Regions from separate parts of the Homo sapiens genome. Here regions 1, 2 and 3 are each linked to region 4. The links are contacts of gene promoters, found by promoter capture Hi-C in blood cells and fetal thymus (Javierre and others, 2016). All regions are on one chromosome and are shown on one strand. Each heading gives the region's core, a stretch centred on a gene start or on the middle of the fragment in contact. The rest is flanking DNA. Distances are from core to core; before and after follow the strand shown. Region 1 overlaps NRIP3 (nuclear receptor interacting protein 3). Region 2 overlaps SWAP70 (switching B cell complex subunit SWAP70). Region 3 overlaps ZNF143 (zinc finger protein 143). Region 4 holds the start of DENND5A (DENN domain containing 5A).

What was found. The method cuts DNA at HindIII sites, captures the fragments that hold promoters and counts their contacts. A CHiCAGO score of 5 or more calls a contact.
Region 1: a fragment that was not itself captured here is called in contact with the fragment with the promoter of DENND5A in region 4 in 1 of 17 cell types (M1 macrophages); the score reaches 5.7 in M1 macrophages.
Region 2: a contact is called between a fragment that was not itself captured here and the fragment with the promoter of DENND5A in region 4, in 1 of 17 cell types (erythroblasts). The highest score is 5.5, in erythroblasts.
Region 3: a contact is called between a fragment that was not itself captured here and the fragment with the promoter of DENND5A in region 4, in 3 of 17 cell types (megakaryocytes, erythroblasts and M2 macrophages). The highest score is 7.4, in megakaryocytes.

What each region holds. Positions count from the first base shown.
Region 1 is chr11:8,993,715-8,996,414 of GRCh38, reverse strand. The region is part of intron 1 of NRIP3 (nuclear receptor interacting protein 3); the gene reads left to right. Among named protein-coding and RNA genes, the nearest start is that of NRIP3, 8.9 kb to the left of the region's middle. The HindIII fragment of the contact is 1,412 bases long and covers 736-2,147 here.
Region 2 is chr11:9,748,701-9,751,400 of GRCh38, reverse strand. It overlaps SWAP70 (switching B cell complex subunit SWAP70), which reads right to left. Exons shown (of 12, transcript NM_015055.4): 11 at 2,218-2,314; 12 at 1-1,537. The coding sequence ends at 1,431. Among named protein-coding and RNA genes, the nearest start is that of SBF2-AS1, 8.2 kb to the left of the region's middle. The HindIII fragment of the contact is 2,782 bases long and covers 1-2,700 here.
Region 3 is chr11:9,527,508-9,530,207 of GRCh38, reverse strand. ZNF143 (zinc finger protein 143) reads right to left here. Exons shown (of 16, transcript NM_003442.6): 16 at 1,684-2,678. The coding sequence ends at 2,595. Among named protein-coding and RNA genes, the nearest start is that of WEE1, 45 kb to the left of the region's middle. RefSeq lists an enhancer at 1-552. The HindIII fragment of the contact is 622 bases long and covers 1,120-1,741 here.
Region 4 is chr11:9,263,988-9,266,687 of GRCh38, reverse strand. It overlaps DENND5A (DENN domain containing 5A), which reads left to right and starts at 1,338. Exons shown (of 23, transcript NM_015213.4): 1 at 1,338-1,727. The coding sequence starts at 1,619. RefSeq lists enhancers at 1,037-1,106, 2,187-2,306, 2,467-2,700 and silencers at 1,387-1,486, 1,537-1,896. The HindIII fragment of the contact is 8,855 bases long and covers 1-2,035 here.

The DNA of each region.
Region 1 (2,700 bases), core at 192-2,691, 270 kb after region 4:
AGCTACTGGAGAGGCTGAGGTGAGAGAATTGCTTGAACCCAGGAGGTGGAGATTTCAGCAAGCCAAGATTGCGCCACTGCACTCCAGCCTGGGAGACAGAGTGAGACTCCATCTCAAAAAAAAAAAAAAAAAAAAAAAAGGAAAAAAAGGCTTTTTGAAGAAAGAAGGGGTAGAGATTTCTTTCAGTACTATGTCAAGAGCTGAGGATATAGCTGAAATCAAGACAGTCATGGTCCCTGCCCTTGTGCAGTTAACATGCTGGTAGGGCAGGGGTGAAATATAAACAAGTAAATACACAAAATAATTTCATATTGATAATTACTATGAAAGAAATAGTGAGATTTGTTAGTAACTAAAAAGGTGACCTACCTACTTTAAGTTGTATGGTCAAGGAAGGTATCTCTGAGGAAATGACATTTGAACAGAGACCTGGAAGATAAGAGGGACCTAACTATTAGAAATGTTAGGGGAAGAACATTTCAGGCAGAGGGGACAGCCAGTGCAAAGGGATTGGAATGGGAAAGAAATTTTGAGCAAGGAAGTGAGTGTGGATGGTGTTGAATCTGAATGAATAAAGGGAGAGTGGTTTGTATATGGAAGGAGAGGCAAGGGCCAGTTGGTACAGAGCTGTATAGAGAAGGGTAAAAAGTTTGGATTTTTTCTGAAGAACAATGGGAAGCCATTGAAGGGTTTTGAGTAAAGTACTGTATTACCTGACTTATGTTTTAAAAAGCTTACTCTGGTTTCCATGCAAAGAATGGACTGGAGAAGGGTAAAAGAAGAGGCAGAATGCAAGTTAGGAGGCTGTGACAGTACAGATAAGAAATTATAGTGGTTTGGATTAGATTGGAGGTAGTAAAGATGGGGAGAAGCAGATCAATTCCAGGTGTGTTTCAGAGTACAATATCACTTTTGATGGGAGGTCAGGAAATGAAAAAATCAAGAATGGATGTATGGTGGTGCCACTTACCAAGGTTGTTGGAAAGGAATTAACCCAATATGTTAAAACTGAACAAGTCTTTGGAGTTCAAACCTCCTTTATGACTGATCAAGAGAGTAAGGTTTGGAGAAAAGTAATGCTCATAGAGGTTAGTGATTTGCCCAAGCTAATATGTGACAAGTGGTAATTTGCTGAAAGCAGAAAGCCTTCATGGAGTAGTAATTAAAAAGATGAGATTGGGAAGGAGGATGAATGGTAGTGGAAGGTCTTGAATGGTAAATTGAGGATTTTTCTTTGTTACAACTAGCAAGAGAACCACTGTGGGGGAAGAGGACCATGAAAGTAATGTTAGGAGATTGGGCTTAGCAGTAACGTAAATGAAGAAGAAAATAAGAGGAGGCAGAATTTCACCCACCGAGATAGGGAATAAGGGAGAATGCGCAAGTTTGATAGAAAATATCAGTGGGATAATTTACATTTGAAGTGCCTGTGGAATATCTAAGTAGAGAAGTTGAAAAAGGCAGTTGGATCTATGGGTCTAGAATTGAGGTGACATCTGGACATGAGATAGAGTCATCATCATAAAGGTAGTAATTTATGCAATGAAAACAGATAAAATTGCCCTGGGAGTATATGTAGAGTGACAAAGGACCAAAGATAGAGCGATGAGGAACACTAACATTTAAGAAATGAACATAGGCAAAGGAACCAGTGAGAGAGACAGGAACAGAATAAACAGGTGGTTTTAGAGGCCAGTGGAGGAGCGTTTCAGGATAAATGAAATGTTGAGTTTATTGCAGCATTGTTTCTAATGGCAAACATATGAAAATAATCTAAATGCCCATTAGTAAATAGTTAAGGTATGCTTATACCACAAACTTGTCTGTCAAGGATGTGCTGTTTTAAAATGCAGAAAGTAGGGCAGACATAAGAAAATAGATGCTAAGCTGGTTATAAGATAACCTGGCATTATACCTGCCTAAGTTACATTGTGTGTGTGCACATGCTTTAGTTTTTGCATCTGGCAGACACTGTTAGTTGGCTAAATTATCACCCATCCTTAGCCCTTTTCTTTATGCTGAACTCCTCTATAGAGATTATAAAAGCTAAATTCTCTCCCAATGTCTGTTAGAGCTAGGAGTGGCCATATGAGTTCTGACCAAGAAGATATGGGCAAAAAACTGCTGAAGGAACTTCTGGGAAAGCTTTTCCTTTTCTGATAAAAGCAATTGATGGTGTTAGTGTAGTCCCTCCTCCTTCCTCATTTCTTGAATGTGGATATAATGCCTGGAGCTGGGGTATTCATCTGTGACCATGAAGGAATGTCCAAGAGAATTAACAGAGTCAATAGCCCTGAAGTTGTTAAGCTGCTGAGTTAGTATCAGCAGCTTCTATGTCTAGACTTCTTGTTATGTGAGAAAAATAAATCTCCATTTAAACTACGGTAAGTTGGCTTTTCTTGTGGCTGAACTCTTTTCTGCTACATGGGGTATATTTTTATTTAAAATTTTTAAAAATGTAAATAATTTAAAACTTTTAAAAATTTAAAGCTGTTGCTTGTGTTAGGGATCTCCATATCTCCAAGTAAATGGTGATACTGCTATTTCTTAATTAACTGTTTTCATCACTATCTATCTAGTCTTACTTTTTTTTTTTTTTTTTTTTTGAGGCAGGGTCTCGCTTTGTTGCCCAGGCTGGAGTGCAGTGGTGTGATCTTGGCTCACTACCACCTCCACCTTCTAGGCTCAAATTAGTCTCCT
Region 2 (2,700 bases), core at 80-2,579, 480 kb before region 4:
TCATAAATGTTCTTTTTAATCCAAAGATAGATCATATATGAAAACCTTCCTCAATACTCCTTTCAAATCAGATGCATATAAACTATGATCCCAATTTCCCTGTTAGACGTATTTCTGTTGGATATTTCCTCCGTTGTCACCACAGAGGAAGGGAAAAAGCAGAAAAGCTGCCCACCTAACAAAGGCTAACATAATGGCTAGGCTAATATATTGACATGCTATCATCTTTATGATGTTTTGAATCTAACTAGCAGACATACAGTCAACTTCCTGTTGACCATGTGCATCTAATCTGCTTTCTTAATTATACAAATAATTTTTATTTCAAATTAGCTTCTTTCTACTACTCAGTATAATCCTCTCACAGCCTGGCATATACTTGGTAGCACATCATTCACTAGAGAGAGTACGAGAGAAAATTAGGTTGACAATATGGGGCAAAGGGGTAGTCTCCTTTAAGGTGAGGGGAAAGGAGATGGGAATGAAACATGCCAAGTGTATGATGGTTAGGGAAAGAAATATCTTAGTAGAAGCTAGAAAACCTCTACTAACAGGATCACATTCCAAAAGGGCAACCAGGAAATGGCAATGACTCCATGACTTCTCTGTCAGAGCACCAATGGTCAAAGGCATTCCATGTCAAGTGTCAGGAAATGGAAAGCGAACCGGCCAATCTAGTTTAACAGCACATACTCGGAAAAGGAAACACGCTGCCAAAGGAAAGAGCTGACATCCAGTCCACAGAGGTTCTGAGTACCCAGTGGCAGTGAGCCCCTCCAAACTCTGCAGAGCTGACTGTGCTGTCTGCACCCTGCCTCATTTGGGGAAGAATCTGAGAGAGCTAAAAGACAAATTTCAGAAGGTGATGTTTTCAAAGAAAGAGTAAACAAACAGCTTGACAATGTTGACTTTTTTTTTCTTTTCAGGTAACCCTTGTTTGCAGGAAGATAAATAAGAAGGCTTCCTTAGGATACTGACCCACTTAGAGAGGCACAGAAGGAAGAAGAGTTAAAAGCAGCAAAGCCGGGTTTTTTTGTTTTGTTTTGTTTTGTTTTGTTTTGAGATGGAGTCTCACTCTGTTGCCCAAGCTGGAGTACAACGGCATGATCTCAGCTCGCTGCAACCTCCGCCTCCCACGTTCAAGTGATTCTCCTGCCTCAGCCTCCCAAGTAGCTGGGATTACAGGCGCCCGCCACCACGCTCAGCTAATTTTTTTTGTATTTTTAGTAGAGACAGGGTTTCACCAGGTTGGCCAGGCTGCTCTTGAACTCCTGACCTCAGGTGATCCACCCGCCTCGGCCTCCCAAAGTGCTGGGATTACAGGCGTGAGCCACCACGCCCGGCCCCCAAAGCTGTTTCTTTTGTCTTTAGCGTAAAGCTCTCCTGCCATGCAGTATCTACATAACTGACGTGACTGCCAGCAAGCTCAGTCACTCCGTGGTCTTTTTCTCTTTCCAGTTCTTCTCTCTCTCTTCAAGTTCTGCCTCAGTGAAAGCTGCAGGTCCCCAGTTAGTGATCAGGTGAGGGTTCTTTGAACCTAAGAGGCAAACATGCTTTAAATACAGGAAGTATTATATTCTTCAGGATACCCCATCATTTTTCTACAGACAAAATAGTAACTTCCCTACTTTATTTCTTCTTTGAGGAACATGCATAAATGTCATACCAGCTAAAACAATTAGAAGATGTATACCAAGGGGATTAACTGGGCCCTCTTACCTATTAGGGGATAAGATTTTCAAGAGAAATTTATCCTGAACAGCTTGGTTTTTTTACATTTGGGCTAAAAAAGTTTCTTTAGTACAATTCAAATACACAAGTGAAACAGAAAAATAAATTTAAAAATAAATATATGGGCAGGGCGTGGTGGCTCACGCCTGTAATTCCAGGACTTTGGGAGGCTGAGGCGGGCGGATCACGAGGTCAGGAGATCAAGACCATCCTGGTTAACACGGTGAAACCCCGTCTCTACTAAAAATACAAAAAATTAGCCGGTCGTGGTGGCGGGCACCTGTAGTCCCAGCTACTTGGGAGGTTAAGGCAGGAGAATGGCATGAACCCAGGAGGCGGAGCTTGCAGTGAGCCAAGATCGCACCACTGCACTCCATCCAGCCTGGGCGACAGAGCGAGACTCCATCTCAAAATAAATAAATTAATTAAATAAAATAAAAATGAAAAATAAAAATAAATATATGATTACTTCATAGAGTCTGTTACCTGGTTCTATCAGTCGAATTAATCCTTCATGATGGGCCACTTTGTCCTTCCAGCTCTTGGTCTTATTAGTTGCCATCTCCAGCTTCTTTTTAACTTCCTGAAACAAAAGTGGATTTTGGACTATGCAGACACACGGGTAGTTTAAGAACCAAATCACAACTATTGGGCCCTTACTATGTATTTGTGAATTATCTCATTAAATCCTCTCATAGCCCATTCTAAGAAGTGGGAACTACTATTACCCCATTGTACAGAGTGAAAACGGGTTCAGAGAAGGTCAGTAACCTGCCGAGAGTCACACAGCAGGAAATGGTAGAGCCAGAATTGGAACCCAGGCTGTCTGATTCCAAAGCCTATTCTTCCACCATCTGCATACGAATTACAATGGGTGTATGGCCCTGTGTGCCAGTTACAGTTTACTGCCTCTCCACTCCAAATCCACCCTGAACTGTCCTGCTGGTGAAACTAAAATAATTCTCCTCA
Region 3 (2,700 bases), core at 181-2,680, 260 kb before region 4:
GGCTGTCACACGGGAAGGCAAGCAGCAAGCAAGAGACACTGTACAAAGTTAGTTTGCCCTGAAGGCCTGGGGGTGGGTAGGAGGGGAAGGAGAGATCTGGCTCTCTGGGCAGCTGTCACCTCTAGAGAATTAAGAAAGCCTCGTCCCTCCCTTAACTCTAAGTTCTTTTGAGTTCAGACTAGGGCACATTTTCTTTGTAGTGGCCTCAAGCTTTGTCTGGGGCAAAGCAGGGTGGTTTTTTTGGACGGAGAGGTTTTCCTTGAGCACTGTCTGGATCAAATTCCAGAGGGTTATGCCCCACCTGGTTCTGTTTGCTAGCGTTTACTCTTATTTCAAGTGTCTTTTTGGGATTTTTCAACCTTGGACGTTTCCATGTCCTGCACTGTGAAGAGACCCTATAGCAGCTTTCCTAGCAATTGTCAGCACACCAACTGCACCCTTCCCCTGGAGGAAACAGGCCACCTTGCCAGGCTCCTGAGGCCCCATTCCCAAGAAGGCAGGTCAGGTTAAACTAGCAGCGACCCTAGGCCCTTTTCTCTGGGTGCCAGAGGTCATTTTCTTTTGAGCTGAGGGATAATCAGGCTAACCAAAACAGTCCAGGTTAAGCCCTGCCCAATCCAACTGGCAAAGGTGCTGGGAGTAAAGAGAAACACCCTGGAATTTGAGCAAAGTCAGATCTAAGGGGCCATGGGAGGCTGACAGCTTGGTTTTTGGTCCTGGGAAGTACAGCAGCCTGGCTGGGCCCAGTGGGGAGGAGCTCCTGGCCAGCAGCCAGGACCAGCACTGGGAGGCTGGGCGCCACCCTGCCTGCGATTTTGCAGATTCTGGTCTTCTACCCCGCCCAACAGCCCCTTTCTGAGCCTCAGTGGGCTTCCGGGGGGAGTTCTGTGTGGGTCTGTGTCTCTGTCAAGAATGAAGACTCGATCGGTGGTTGACTAGGGCTTTTGCTAATGTTATGCATCTGTAAAGGGTTCTGCAGGAAAAGTTCTGCCCAACCCTGAAGGGCTTCCGATTTCAAGTAAGTCACCATCCTTTTTAGCAAGATCATAGAACCTGATCAAAGATAACATTTATGTAAAATCAAACAGCACAACGTTTTCCCCTTTCTACTGTAAAGCTTGAAATGAAAAAGCCACATTTCAGCTCTCTGCAAATAAAGCTCGCTGAACTACAGTGCAGGAGGGGCTGCTGCGGAACACACCATCTTTTTTTTTTTTTTTTTGACCTTGGTGAACGCTGATTTTCCAGCATTAGAAAATGGTTTTTATACTGCTCAATTCATTAGGCAATCAGAAATCACCAAAGTTCATCTTGATAATCTCTGCCACAAATGAGCATTTGAGGAGGTAACTGTGGTGCAGTGAAAACACACTAGACTTGGAGCCAGAAAGTCTGGGTTCTCGTCTTGGTCCTGCCTCTCCATAGCTGTGAGGGCTGGTACGACAGTCAGCCTCCCTCCTGGACTCTTGGTTTCCTCATGTAAAAAACGGAGGTAGTAAATCCCATATGTCTCACAAAATTGTTGTGAATATATAAAAATATATGGAAAAGCACTTACTCTGTACTTGATAAACAACATCCTTTCAATATGTGTATTAGGTTACATTCCATTACATTTGCGATATTTTCTGCACCATTTCCCCCCAACCCCCCACCAATATGATAAATAAATAAATATAAAAGTAACATTTTAAAAATTGCTGTATTCAAAATTAATAATAAACTTTGGGGTAAATAAGCTTTAAAACAAAAGTACATAAGCAAAAATAAATAATTTACACCAACCCACTAACCTAATTTTCAGAGTAAAGCCATTTCCAATTACAGTACTGTTATCCCGGGCACCAGCCTGTGGTTAAACTTTGATGATTCATTATTTTTAAAAAACAGTAATAAAAATTGAATACTAAGCAAAATCTTTAACAAAACCACTGGATTTAACTTTTTAATTTTAAATAACCAAATTTTATAATTTTGTACATAATTCAATGTAATGCCAATATAATTAGCATTTCAGCTTGAAGAGCTGGTTTTTAACAGGGATGGGAAACTATAAATTATTCAAACAGTCTGCAAACCATGAGATACAAATAAAAATGGACAAGCATATAGTAGAACAAAAACCGCAGACACTCTACTAACTGGGGAAATATCTGAAGGCTTTACACCCTTTATTATCCATAATGGCTTTTGGAATTACGATTGTGTGACATATAGAACCTTTGATATTTTAGATACAGCCTTTATTTTTTTTTCCACGGGAAGTTAAAAATCCATCATAAGACTCCATAAGACTTTACTAGTCTTGCATGTAGACTCTAGGAGTTTGTGATCTGATAAAAGAGTAACATGAAAATTTACTGTATTGCCCTAATTTCATACTTCCTTGTACACAATGAATCACTCTGAGAATCTATTCCAAGGGTTATATACACAAAAGTGTCAAGAATAAAATGTTCTCCACTCTCGCATAAAAATGTGTACAGTGTATCAGGAATGGAAAACTTCTAATTTTCCTGGGCCCGGGCTTCATGGATTTCTGCTGCCAGAAGATGAAAGACTCCTTCTGCTTTATTGCTCCATTGTTCTGAGGATTAATCATCCAACCCTGGCGTTTCTCCTTGTTGGATTCTAGACGCTATTCTGATGGCTTCTTCCAGAGATGGCTGTTCTCCAAGCTGAAACAGGAACACACACATC
Region 4 (2,700 bases), core at 89-2,588:
AGCACTTTAGGAGGCAGAGGAGGGCGGATCACCTGAGGTCAGGAGTTCGAGACCAGCCTGACCAACACGGTGAATCCCTGTCTCTACTGAATACAAAAAATTAGCCGAGTGTGGTGGTGCGCGCCTGTAATCCTAGCTACTTGGGTGGCTGAGGCAGGAGAATCACTTGAACCTGGGAGGCAGAGGTGCAGTGAGCCGAGATTACGCCATTGCACTCCAGCCTGGGCAACAAGACAGAACTCCGTCTTGAAAAAAAAAATCTGTAATATTTACTGAGTGATTTCCATGTTCCAGGCAGTATTCTCATTGTTTTACCTGTACTTGCATTTACCTTATGTAATTGTCTCAAAAACCATGACGCCAGGCACTTAGAGATTAACTTGCTCAAGGTCAAAAGTAAATGATCGTCAGGATTGAAATCCGAGCATTTTTTTCTAGAGCCCATGCTAGTGACCACTATACCTGTGTTGCCTTTCTGGCCTCTGATCTCCAGTTTCCAACAAAGACACATCTGCCTAGCTTCTATGGGAAAGGAAATCGGAGGGTCCTAGGACAAGGACCAATAGGTAAGTTTCCCTTCGCCTCCTCCCTATCCTCTTACAGGAAAACAGGTTTAGGGGTGGATCTGAGAGTTTTCACAGAGTGAAGAGGAAGAGGAGCTCCCAAATGGCAGGCGCCTCTGGAGGCTTCCAGAGAAAAAAGGAGAGAGCGTGGGAAAAGGGCAGGCTGGGAGGTGGGAGCGGCGAGGAACGGGGAGCTGACCACAAGCCCAGGATTCCAGACCAGGCTTATGTCTCTTAGACTCAGCGTAACCTTGGATAAGTCCTTGCTTCTTTCTGAGACTCAGTTTCCCCGTCTGTAAAATAAGGGTAAATATAAAACCGGCTCATCCGCCCCTGCCAAAAGAGAGGACAGGGAGAAGGCCCTGTCTGGGGTCTAGGCTGACACGCTGCAGCTAGGATTAGGTGAGCTTCCGAGCTCAGTCGTGAGACCCCATCCTCATGGCAAGGCCGCGCTAAGATCTCTGGACCTCTGCTTGCTGGGTGGGTGGTTGGGGGCAGAGCATGGGCCAAATGCCCGGCTCTGCAGGCTGCGCCCACTCTTCTCGCACCTCCTCAGCCCTCCCTAAAGGAGTCTCAATCCCGGGGGAGTGGCAGTTGCGGGCGACCAAGCAGTCACCGGCTGCGCTGCGGCGACCTCCCGGGAAGCTGCGGCCGGCGGGGTCCGAAGAGCATCACGTCATCCTTTCCCCCAGGAGCCCGCCCCCTCCCAGACGGCGCCTGCGCAGGCGCGGTAGGAGGAGGGTCACGGTGGGGGCTGTCCACGCGCTCTCCGCCCTTCTCCAGGCTCGCTCGGGCCGCGGCGCTCTCGGCTAGCTGCAGCGGCGGCGGCGCGGAGGGGAAGGCATCCAGGATGCGGTGCGGGGCGGCCCGGTGCCCCCCCGCCCCGTCACGGCAGCCGCGGCGGCCGAGGGGACCGGGCCAGGGCCGGGGGCGGCGGCCCGAGCCGCGGTAGCGGCGGCGGCGGGAGGGGCGGCCTGAGGGCGGACGGGCGGGCGCCCGGGTTGCGGGGGCTCGGTGCCGCTCCGCACTGCCCGGCCGGTCTCGGCCCCGGCGCCATGAGTGGCGGCGGCGGCGGAGGGGGCTCGGCGCCCAGTCGCTTCGCCGACTACTTTGTCATCTGCGGACTGGACACGGAGACCGGGCTGGAGCCGGACGAGCTGTCGGGTGAGTGCGCGCCGAGCCCGGGGCGCTTTCCCGCGCCCGCTGTCGTCGGGGACCCCAGAAGAAACCTTCCTTCAGCCCCGCTTTGTCCCGGGAGCCGGGCGAGTGTCGGCCGGGAGGACCAGGGCGGGCGCGGGCGAAGGGGGCTTTGGACTGGAGGGGGGAAACGGATGAGGGGCTCTGAGCCATGAGGGGTCCAAACCTACGGCCCGCTGCGCAGTGGCCACGTCTTCGGCGACCAGAAAGAGGGAGGGTTGTGTGTTCTCAGTTTGGTGTAGGTTGAGTGACTTCGTTTAAAATAAAGGAAAGCTTGTCCTCTGGCACCCATTAGGGAGGGAAGGCGTCCCACGTCCTAGTGAAAGTAAGTTCCACCCAGACTTAAAAAAAAGGAAAACAAAAACTTGGTGAGTTTATCTGGCCACTTCCCAAGAAGCTTGTGATACTAGTTCCTCAAAACCGTTATACCCCAGCCCTGGGCTGGGCCCCCTGAGTCAGATTGCAGCTCTGCGCGTCTGGATGGGATATGAAGTAATAAAGTGAACTTGGGCGGCACCAAGAAGAGTAGGAACTCCCTTAGCCTTGGAAAGGGCTTGTATCCCGGGGCCATGCCTTTTTTGAAAAGTAATTTATGTCCTTTATGAGGACAGAGGCGTTTGTGAATAAAAGGGTAGCAGCATTGTAGTTGGAGAGGCTTGGTGTGTTCTGATGCGTTTCAAGTCATATTTGAAAGGGAAAGTGATGAGGGGAGTCAAAGATGGGGCCCTGACCAGATTTGGCACTCACTGCAGAAGGCCGTGAAAATTATACAGTCCCCGTGAATTTTCCACTGCACTGTCATTGGAGTCTTTGAATTGTAACAGTTTTGAAAATAAGTTTTTGTCTGGAGTTTCCAGTTAGTGGGTTTCAAGTGGGTGGAGGTTTGTCGGGTTGTACTTTAAGGTTGTGTCATCCTGATGAGGGGGACTCCTTTTCACTT